Linked DNA regions of Homo sapiens: region 1 is linked to region 2. The links are contacts of gene promoters, found by promoter capture Hi-C in human tissues and cell types (Jung and others, 2019). All regions are on one chromosome and are shown on one strand. The core of a region is centred on a gene start or on the middle of the fragment in contact, and the rest is flanking DNA. Distances in the headings are between cores, read along the strand shown.

What was found. The method cuts DNA at HindIII sites, captures the fragments that hold promoters and counts their contacts. A contact is called where the count stands out against the background at its distance.
Region 1: a contact is called between a fragment that was not itself captured here and the fragment with the promoter of ZNF354C in region 2, in 2 of the 25 tissues and cell types used here (bladder and pancreas).

Annotation. Positions count from the first base shown.
Region 1 is chr5:178,961,683-178,967,098 of GRCh38, reverse strand. It overlaps ZNF454 (zinc finger protein 454), which reads right to left. Exons shown (of 5, transcript NM_001178089.3): 5 at 666-2,444. The coding sequence ends at 1,126. Among named protein-coding and RNA genes, the nearest start is that of ZNF454, 23 kb to the right of the region's middle. The HindIII fragment of the contact is 3,078 bases long and covers 1-2,938 here.
Region 2 is chr5:179,057,463-179,063,279 of GRCh38, reverse strand. ZNF354C (zinc finger protein 354C) reads right to left here and starts at 2,907. Exons shown (of 5, transcript NM_014594.3): 1 at 2,614-2,907; 2 at 1,185-1,265. The coding sequence starts at 1,211. RefSeq lists an enhancer at 2,053-2,588. The HindIII fragment of the contact is 19,620 bases long and covers 1-5,817 here.

The DNA.
Region 1 (5,416 bases), core at 150-2,649, 95 kb after region 2:
AAGCCCAGAGGAAATGCATAACTCAAGAATTTTGATCAAGTTGTGCCTTCTGGACAGAGATACCAAGTTCTGAAGGCTGGATTTGGGTGTGATATTCAACATCATGGACTGTGTCTGAGACCAGACCACCACACTCCCCATAGGGGCAGTGATAGGTGGCACCATGCAGACAGTTAGGCGTTGCTAAGTCAGAAGAGGGTCATTTGGGGCAAATGAATCGTCTCACAGGGATTCTACAGGGATGAAGCCAGCAGACAGACCAGAGAGATCTGACAATGGATGGTTTGAAGCAAAAGGCAGGAAGCATGGTTTAAATAAGTGTGGGTGACGTACTTTCTCTACACTGGGTGTCGGTGGTGTGGGTGAGGAGAGGACTAAGGCTTCCATTAAAGCTGGCAACTCTCTTATGTAAGAGAATCTAGTAGAGTGCAACGCTCGTAGGCCATTTTACCTTTTTGTTCCTTTGCTTTTCAGCTTTAATTTTTACAATTTCAGTTTCTCTAATAGTCAAAATGTAATTTGATAAACCAATTTTTTAATGCTGTTAATGAAGCTCCATTTTGGTTCTGATGCTTGGTAATTCAGACAAATCAAACAGTACTGCTATTTGAGGCAGTATTAAAGAATGAGGAGTGTTTGCCATTCTTTTTTTTTTTTTTTTTTTTGAGACTGAGTCTTGCTCTGTCGCCCAGGCTGGAGTGCAGTGGCACGATCTCGGCTCACTGCAACCTCTGCCTCCCGGGTTCATGCCATTCTCCTGCCTCAGCCTCCCGAGTAGCTGGGACTACAGGCGCCCACCACCATGCCCGGGTAATTTTTTATATTTTTAGTAGCGATGGGGTTTCACCCTGTTAGCCAGGATGGTCTCGATCTCCTGACCTCGTGATCCGCCCACCTCGGCCTCCCAAAGTGCTCCCAAAGATTACAGACGTGAGCCACTGTGCCCAGCCGAGTGTTTGCCATTCTTAAATGCCCAAACCCCATGACACTGTGAAACCTGACCCTCAGTAAATAAAGTGACTATCTTGATGCAAGCTTTCATAGTTATTCTCTAGAACGGATTATCTCACATTCAATAATTCATCTACTCAGTCTCAAAGGTCTTCCATACAAACTGCATTCATATCACTTCTCTCCAATATGATGTCTCTGATGCTGAATGAGGTTTGCAGTCTGGTTAAAAGCTTTCCCACATTTATTACATTTATAGGGTTTCTCTCCTGTGTGAATCCTCTGATGTTGAGTCAGGTGAGTGCTTCGGATAAAGGCTTTCTCACAGATTTTACATTTGTAAGGTTTTTCCCTAGTATGAATTCTCTTATGTTGGGTAAGGGCTGAATGGTCACTGAAGGCTTTTTCACATATGTTACATGTATAAGGTTTTTCCCCAGTATGAATTCTCTGATGTTGGGCTAGTGCTGATTGGTCCCGAAAGGCTTTCTCACACAAGCCACATCTGTAAGGTTTCTCTCCAGTGTGAATTTTCCGATGTCGTGCAAAGGATGAATTATCCCTGAAAGCTTTCCCACATTCATTACATTTATAAGGTTTCTCTCCAGTATGAATTCTCTGATGTTCAGTAAGGGAAGAGTTCACCCTGAAGGCCTTCCCACATTCATTACATTCAAAGGGTTTCTCTCCAGTGTGAATTCTCTGATGCTGAAGGAAACTTGTACTCTGATTAAAGGCTTTTCCACATTCATTGCATTTATAGGGTTTCTCTCCACTGTGGATATTCTGGTGTTTGGTAAGGTGTGCCCTGCACACAAAGGCTTTTTCACAAATGTTACATTTAAAAGGTTTCTCTCCAGTATGTATTCTATGATGATGGGCAAGGTGTATATTTCGGATAAAAGCTTTTCCACATAAGTTGCATTCAAAAGGCTTCTCTCCAGTATGAATTTTCTGATGGTACGTAAGTGAGGAGCTCACTGAGAAGGCCTTGCCACATTCCTTACATTCATAGGGTTTCTCGCCAGTGTGAATTCTTTGGTGATGGATAAGGTGCGTACTCTGGTGAAAGGCTTTCCCACATTCTCTACATTCATATCTTTTCTCCTTAATATGAATTTTCTGATTTGCATTTTTTTCATTATGAATTTTCTGATGTTTATTAAGAGTTGAACTCTTAGAGAAGACTTTTCCACACTCACTACACTCAAAGGCATTTTTGCTAGGTTGAAATCCCTGACTTTGATCACTGTGAAGAGATGAGCTCATAGTGCTCCCGGATTCATCACATTCCTGTGATGGGGTGTTGGGGTGAGTGAGTACCACTCGCTGCAAACTGATCTCCTGGCCTCCACATTGCCACTCCAGCAGGCTAGCACACTTCCAGTGACTACTGCTACTGAATCTTTCCTTTATTGTCCATTGATCCAATTCTTCTTCAGGAATCTCTGCCTTGACAGTAGATTTCTTACTGGCAGGCATAGTCATCCAGTCTGAAAGACATTAAAAATAAAAATGTCTGTTTTACCCTAGCAAAACATTTGGATGGGGCAAGATGACGAGCCTCTTCATAATGCTAACAGAAAGATTTCAAGTTTGAAGATTTTCTGAAGTAACAACAAGAAAGGACAGAAAAGAGGGGTGAACAGAGGACTACAGCAGGGGTTGATCTCATGTATAATGTATGAGGCAGGAGAGCTTGGAAGCATGATCTTAGAAGTCACAGGTGGCTGGGCGTTGTGGCTCACACCTGTAATCCCAGCACTTTGGGAGGCCAAGGCGGGTGGATCACGAGGTCAGGAGATCGAGACCATCCTGGCTAACACGGTGAAACCCCGTCTCTACTAAAAATGCAAAAAATTAGCCGGGCGTGGTGGTGGGAGCCTGTAGTCCCAGCTACTCAGGAGGCTGAGGCAGGAGAATGGTGTGAACCCGGGAGGCGGAGCTTGCAGTGAGCCGAGATCGCGCCACTGCATTCCAGCCTGGGTGACAGAGTGAGACTCCGTCTCAAAAAAAAAAAAAGTCACAGGCCTGGGTTAGAATTGAGTACAACACATATTTTCTTTGTGATAATAGAGAAGTTATCTGATTTTCTAAGCCTCAAAAAAAAGAAAAACCTGATAAAGACCACATGATGCTAACAGACAAGAAGAAAAGTACCCTGTCGATTCAAATGAGATGATTTTTAAAGCCAGCCAGATGTGGCCTAAAGAAACTGCTGAAAATAGTAGTCGACACTTGGTAGGAAAAACCTTGACTCTAGAGTGAATACTAAAATCAAGATATAGGCTCATTTGAGCATTCAGATGAATAATAAAAAGCTAGGCCGCTGTACAGGCTGTGTGAAATGCTCATATCTACTAAAAAAATAAGGACCTCCTATTGCTTGTGAGGAAGCAATGTCTCCAAACCCATATGAATAATGTGACACCCATGGGAGGGAAATGTGCCATGAGATATTTTGTGGCAAAGTTATCTCAGGATAAACGCTGCAGCTGCAAGCACTGCCGGCAAGTATTCTCAGGGCAAACAGGAGAGGGCCTAAAATGTAAAACTAAGGGCTAGATTCCAAACACAGACGATGCAGAATTCACGAGAAATCCCATCAAGAACAAGCCATCCTTATTACCTCCTTTTCCCACTCGCTGCAGAAAATCTTCTACAAAAAGGCACTCCTGGTATCATTTTAGAATCAAAGAAACAAACCTCTTTACTTACTAGGAAAAGAAAGGTAAACAGGCGCATTTCAAGACTAAAATCCTGTTGAGCTCAGAATAATATATCCTTGTTCAAAACAAAGAATGGTCAAAGTTAAACATCGGTATTGCCAAATGTCAAAATGTTAAGGACTGACTTCCACTTCTGGCCCAAATAGAGTAGACTGTGGCAGACTAACATTTCTGCAGAAAACAACTAGAAAATCTGAATTGGAAAAAGTTATCTGTCTGAAGGCATCAGATGTCACCCAGGCAGACTTTATAGTCTAATATTTGGGAGAGAATGAAAATATAGAGAGGTGATCCCAATACTCAGTGGCTTGTTACTCAAACATTTTATTGAATTCTTAAGCTTTACAGGGCAAAAGATTAAAGTTAAGCAGAAATCCAGAATTTTCTAGTCTTTTAGTACAACAGAACCAGGACCTTCCAAGGAGAGGTCATAATAACATGTGAAGCTCTCAGCCGGGACTCCTGCAGGGCTACAAAACTAGTAGTACGGGCAAATGAGCAGTTGACATAGCTTTACAAATATTGTGACCAACCTCCAGCTATTACAGGCCTTGGCTGGACTAAGATGGTTTGCTTGCACTCTAGCTGCTACCAGGGAAGTTAAATCTTCTCTGGAAGAACAACATCTAGAGCCTCTGCTCTCCTTCACATATAGTGTCAGGGATACAATAAAAAAGGCCAGCTGTGCTAAGAAATTCAATGAAGAGGGAAAAACAGACAATAGAAAAAGAACCGTAGAACACAGATACCAGAGTTATCAGACGTGAACCTTAAAATAACTGTGATTAATATGTTCAAGGAAACAGGAATGAGAATTACAACAAAGAATTGGAACCAAATAATCAAATGGAAATTCTAGAACTGAGAAATACAATAACCAAAATTATGAATTCAATAGTCTTTAACAAGATATCAAATATAGCAGAAAAGAGGAATAGTGAGCTACAAAAATACATAAGCAGAAAATATCCATAGTAAAACATGGCTAAAAAACTAAACATTATTTAAAAACAAAAAGGTTGAAAAATGAACTCTGAGAAGGGCTATAAACTCCAAGGATAACTACAAAGAAAATTCACCTAGGCACCTCAGCTAGGCACTACTGAAAACTGAAGATTACCTTGAAAGTTGCTTGAAAAAAACAAATGATACACTACCTTTGAAAAAGCAAAACTAAGACTGGCAGTGTCTTAATGAAAACAATGGAACCCAGAAGACAATGAAGTAACATCTGAAGCGGTGAAAGAACCGAACTGTCAAGCTAGAATTCAACACACAGAGAAAATATCTCTAAAAATTAAACTTGAAGTAGATATTTCCATACAAATAAAAACAGAGATGGTGTCACCAGCAGATCTACATTAAAAGAAACACAGATGTGTTCCAGGCAGAAGAAAAATAATTCCATGTGGAAATATGAAAATGTAAGAAGGCATGAAAAGCAATGGAAAAGTTAAATATATGGATAAGCAAAAATACAATTGATTATATGAGACAATAATTATAATGTCTTAATGGATTGCAAATATATGTGGAATTAAAATACATAGCAAAAATAAAGGTAGAAGGAAGAAAATGCTGTTAATTTTTTTTTTTTTTTTGAGACAGAGTCTCGCTCTGTTGCCCAGGCTGGAGTGCAGTGGTGATCTCAGCTCACTGCAACCTCTGCCTCCTGGATTCAAGCGATTCTCCTGCCTCAGCCTCCCGAGTAGCTGGGACTACAGGTGCACGCTGCC
Region 2 (5,817 bases), core at 1,658-4,157:
GCTACTACTGTTACTAATGCTCATAGCAACTCAGTCATGTATGTATATTATTAACCCCACCAAAATTGAGGAAATGGGGTACAGAGAGATAAAATAACTTGCTCAGGGCTACATCCCTAGCTTGGATTTGAAGCCATGAAGTCAAGCTCCTGAGTCCACATTTCCAGCCTATGGGCTATTGGAAAAGGAGTCAATGAAGAATAGGCTTTGGAGTATGGCAGAAAAAATGCACAGAAGGGAGGGGACTAGAGGAAAGGGAGCTGGTGTTGAAGGAAAGATGGGACTTCCACGTCGGAATGACAGACAGGAATGCTAGGAAAAAGGTCAGGCCTGAGGACAGATTTGGGGAAGATACTCAGAACGCTGAGGGTTAAAGTAATGAAAATGGATCTTAAATGGGGAAAGAACAAGAAAAAAGAGCCCAGGTAGAGAGGCTAAACTAGCAGAGAAAAAAGAAAAGAATCAGAGAAGGAAATAGAGGAATCAATCAGACAGGTGAGATGGACATTTGGACAGCTTAACATCCCCGCTGCACTGGGAGGGGAAGGCCCCAGGCCTGCCTCCTTCTGGGCTTCAAAGCCCAAACCACGCTGAACTCCTTCTGGGATGCCCTTAGTCTTCTCTAAGCACCAATATCAGTCCTGGCCTCCAGTATAAACTCAGAATGCCCCCACTTCTGGGATATTTCCCCTGAACATTTAATCATGTTTCCTAAGATCGATACCACGAACTCCCAGAAGATGGAAATGACAGCTTTCCTCTTTCCATCCCGTGTGCTGCACAGGATCCTGTACATAGGGCTCAATAAATGCTTGTGGAGGCTGTCTTCCGGCCCTTCCACATCTTAGCCCCAAGTGTGACTATATCCTCTATGAAGACAGAGACTGCTTCATGCCCCATTCTCCCCACCCAGCACCAGTGTAGTGGGAAGCATATGCTCAGAACTGCCTCAAATGTGGATCACAGAGTGAGCGGGGTGAATTAAGAGTAGTCTCGGGACAAAAGAGGCACATTCCTCAGCAGCCCCTTGCTAAGCCCAAGACACTGGGAAAAACTTTTGAGGTTCCGGATTCTTCATCGTTTTGGTTGGACCAAAAAGTACCTGGACAAAGTCTGGAAACATGTCTACCATCTCTGAATCCAGAAGCCAACTGATGAAAAAGACAACCTTCACTCACTCTCACCTGAGCAGACAGCAGATCCACAGCCATCCCTTCCTCCTCAGTCTTCCTGCCCAGGGAGAGCAGAGTGTGGACACGGTGGGTCTGCAGAGGAAAAAGGTGTCAAGAGGAACCCTGGCGTCAGGAGATGGCTTGGAGAGAGGAAGTTACAACCGCCCATAATGTCCATCAGGTCTCAAAAAAGCCACCCCCCGTAATGATGTAAAGCAAGAAGAGTGTTTACTAGTTTACTAGGGCAATGTGCCAACCCTACTTCTATTTCTGCACTTGGACTCTTTAACTTCCACCTTCGGGCCTCTCAGCTACCTCTAGGCAAACCGTGACTCCCCCATGGATGTCTGGAGTCCTTCGCTAGCTTTGAACTGCACACCTAAAAGTCGCAATGAATATCCAGTCTCCTGGGGCGCCACTTCCCAGCCTAGCTAGCTGATCCTCATCCTGCCTGCCCTGCCTCACCCTTTCCTCCCTATGGTAGCCACGATAAAGAGGCTTCCCCGCATCCCTACCCTGGTGACAGACCCCACTGCTCGCCCTGAGTGGTCCTTCCGTGGAGTGCTGTGTTCTCCCCAAGAAACTGTGAGCATAATCCAACCACTCAGCTTTCCCAGCCTCTTTACTAGATCTTCGTCGGGCCTTACCACACTTTACCCAAGGTAACAGGATTAAGGCACTGTCCCCACCCAAAGCCAGAGCTTTGCTGTCCCTCCTAATACTCCACAGGTGCCGCCTCTAATGGCACCCACAACCAGAAACAGCCGTCGCTGCCCAAACACCAACCCCAGGTGGGAGAGGTGGAAACCGTGCCCGCCCCACAGAAAGCAAGGGAAGAGGCTGCCTGGGGCAGCCGGGCAAGTGTGAGGGCCTCCAGGCCCGCGATCTGCAGCGGCGACTCAGGGTGCCCCCTAGCATGGAGCCAACCTGGGGCTCTGCCAGGCCAGTTCCAGCGGGTGCCTCGACCAGCCCAGGGGAAGCTGCCACACAAGGCCTCGGTTACGCGACGAAGCGCACCTCCTCCCAGGAAGCGGTGAGTGTTTTCCACGCAGTATTTTCAATCTTCACATTTACAGATGTTACGGAGACTGAAAACCAGGAGGTCGTGACCTGCCCAAAGTCATAAGGGCCGGGAAGGCAATCCTGATCCTAGCCCCAGGCCCCAGTTACATCTGGGGCAATGACCTCGCCACTCTGCCTCGGTCTCCTCCTGACAGAGCGGGAACAGCGTACCGCCACCCTATCTGTTAGCAGGGATGCGCGGAGTTCGTTCGGGCGATGCGCTAGTCTGGTGCCTGGCACCCGAGCGCTCTCGGCGGGCATCAGCTATTGCTTTTATTATTTCCGTTACTCAGAAGAAAATGCACAGAAGAAAATCGCAGAATGAACAACGACAAAAGGCTGGCATCCCCACCCCAGCGGCCCGGCGCACCCAGCTCACCTGGCGAGGCGCTCCCTCCCGCGGGTCTCCGGCAGTCCAGGCCGCTCGCGGACGGCGCCCCGGGACCCAGTGGCCAAGGGGCCCGAGCCGCGTAGGGCTGGTCCCAGAAGCCCAGACGAGGCTGCACGCCGCCCACTCGCTGGAGAGGCCCGGATCCACCCCGGCCCGGAAGAGACCACTGCGAGCGCCTCAACCCCAGGCCGGCAATCCTAGCCAAGCCTGGATGGCCCAAGCCAGGAGAACCCCCGAAAGGCCGCGAGCTGTCCCCGAAACCCCGCCAACCGCGGGAGAACTACCACTCCCGGCATGCCTCCGGCCCCACGCCGACTACACTTCCCAGGGGACGCCGCGGTGCGCGCTGCGAACTCCGGGAGAGGAACCGCCTCCGCCAACGAGAGCTCTCAAAGGCGACAGTGCGCGGAGGGGCTGCAGTGCGAGGGAGTACGCACGCCGCACACGAGGCAGGAGGTCTCCAGCTGCTGGCCGTGCTGCCTACAGCCCGCGCACTTGTTAAGCAAGCGGAGTAGTTTGAAAAAACAAAACCGGAAATTAGATTCATTTAGGAGGATCAGTGTGCTGTAGCTCCCACCGCTGGTTGTGATTACTTTTCTGTTGATACAAAATAATTTACATAATGTATAGGGTCCATGTGAGTGCTTGTTACGTGCATAGACTGTAATGATCATCAAGTCACAGTATTTGGGGTATCCATCACCTTAAGCATTTATCATTTTTATGCGTTGGTATCATTTCAAGCCCTCTCTTCGATTTACTTTGAAATATACACAATATTATTGCCAAGTATAGTCACCCTAGTCTGCTATTAAATATTAGAAATTATTTCTTCCATCTAACTGTATGTTTGTACCCATAACCAACCTCTCTTCATTCCCCTTCCTTTCTGGCCTTCCTGGCCTTTGGTATCTATCCTCCTGTTGTCTATGTCCATGAGATCAAGTGTTTTAACTCCCGAATATAAGTGAGAACATGCAGTACTTGTCTTTCTGTGCCTGGCTTATTTCACTTAACATAATGACCTTCGGCTCCATCCATGTTGCTGTGAATACATTATTTCATTCATTTTTATGGCAGAATAGTATTCCATTGTGTCTATGTATGACATTTTCTTTACCCATTCATCTATTGCTGGTAGGTTGAGTCTATATCTTGGCTACTGCAAATAGTGCAGTGACAAACGTGAGTGCAGGTATCCTTTTCATATACTGATTTCTCTCCCTTTACCAGTAGTAGGGTTGCTGGATTGTATGGTAGTTCCATTTTTAGTTTTTTGAGAAACCTCCACACTGTTTTCCATAGTGGCTGTACTAATTTACATTCCCACCAATAGTGTATAAGAGTTCCCTTTTCCCCAAATCCTCACTGGCATCTGTCATTTTTTTGTCTTTATAATAATAATCATTCTAACTGGAGTGAGCTTATATCTAATTAGAAAGTGTTAGTAACCAAAAGAGCATGATATTTGTATAAAAATAGACACACACACCCCCCCATGGAACAGAATAAGAGAACCCAGAAATCAGTGCACCCATTTACAGCCAACTGATTTTCAACAAAGGTGCCAAGAACACACAATGAGGAAAGGACTACGTCTTTAATAAATGGTTCTGGGGAAAACTGGATAATAATATGCAGAAGAATGAACTTGGACCCCTTCTCTCTCAACATATATAAAAGTCAACTCCAGATAGATTAAAGATTTAAAGACTCCAAACTATAAAACTGATAGAAGGAAACATCGGGACAACTCTTCAGGACATTGATCTAGGCAAAGATTTTTCTTTTTCTTGCCTGTGCTTTTGAGGTCTGTGGCTAAGACCTCAAAAGCACAGGCAACAAAAAGAAAAATAAACAACTATATTAATCTAAAAAGTGTCTGCACAGCAAAAGAAACAACAGAGTGAAGCAACAACTTGAGAGAAAATATTTATAAATTACTCATCCAACAAAGGACTAATACCCAGTATATACAAAGAATTCAAATAACAGGTTTGTGACCAGCCAGGCCAATGTGGCGAAACCCCGTCTCTACTAAAAATGCAAAAATAGCCAGGCGTGGTGGTGCATGCCTGAAACCCCAGCTACTTGGGAGGCTGAAGCAGGAGAATTCCTTGAACCTGGGAGGTGGAGGTTGCAGTGAGCTCAGATCATGCCACTGCACTCCAGCCTGGGTGACAGAGCGAGATGCCATCTCAAAGAAAAAACAAAACAAAAAAAACCACAACAGTATACAAAGAGTCCCATTAAAAATGGGCAAAGGGCTGGGCACAATGACTCATGCCTGTAATCCCGGCACTTTGGGAGGCGGAAGTGGATGGATCACTCGTGCCCAGGGGTTCCAGAGCAGCCTCAGCAACATAGTGAGACCTTGTCTTTACAAAAAATAAACGAAATTAGCCAGGCATGCCAGTGCAGGCCTGTAGTCCCAGCTACTCAGGAGGCTGAGCGCAGAGGATTGCTTGAACCCAGAGGTTGAGGCTGCAGTGAGCAAAAATAGCACCACTGCACTCCAGCCAGGGTGACAGAGTGAGACCCTGCCTCAAAAAAAAAAAAAAAAAAAAAAATAGGCAAAGGACCTGAATAGACATTTCTCAAAAAGACATTCAAATGGCCAACAGGTATATGAAAAATGTTCAACATTACTAATCATCAGAGAAATGCAAATCAAAACCACAAGATAGTTATGTTATTTTAAATTCTTTTAATGTGTACCATACACAGGAGATAATGTATTCATAGGCACAGATTTTTGTTTTTATTTATTTATTTATTTATTTATTTTGAGATGGAGTCTCACTCTGTCGCCAGGCTGGAGTACAGTGGCGCGACCTTGGCTCACTGCAACCTCTACCTCCTAGGTTCAAGCAGTCTCCTGCCTCAGCCTCCTGAGTAGCTGGGACTACAGGCACGTACCACCATGCCCAGCTAATTTTTGTATTTTTAGTAGAGATGGGGTTTCACCATGTTGATCAGGATGGTCTTGATCTCTTGACCTCGTGATCTGCCCACCTCAGCCTCCCAAAGTGCTGGGATTAGAGGCATGAGCCACTGTGCGAGGCCCATGGTTTAATAATAATAAAACAAATACCCACATACCCAACACTTGGGTTACCAAAGAGAAATTTACCCAAAATTTGGAAGCCTTGTTCACAGTGCTCCCAAGTCATTTTCCTGAGTTGCTTTCAG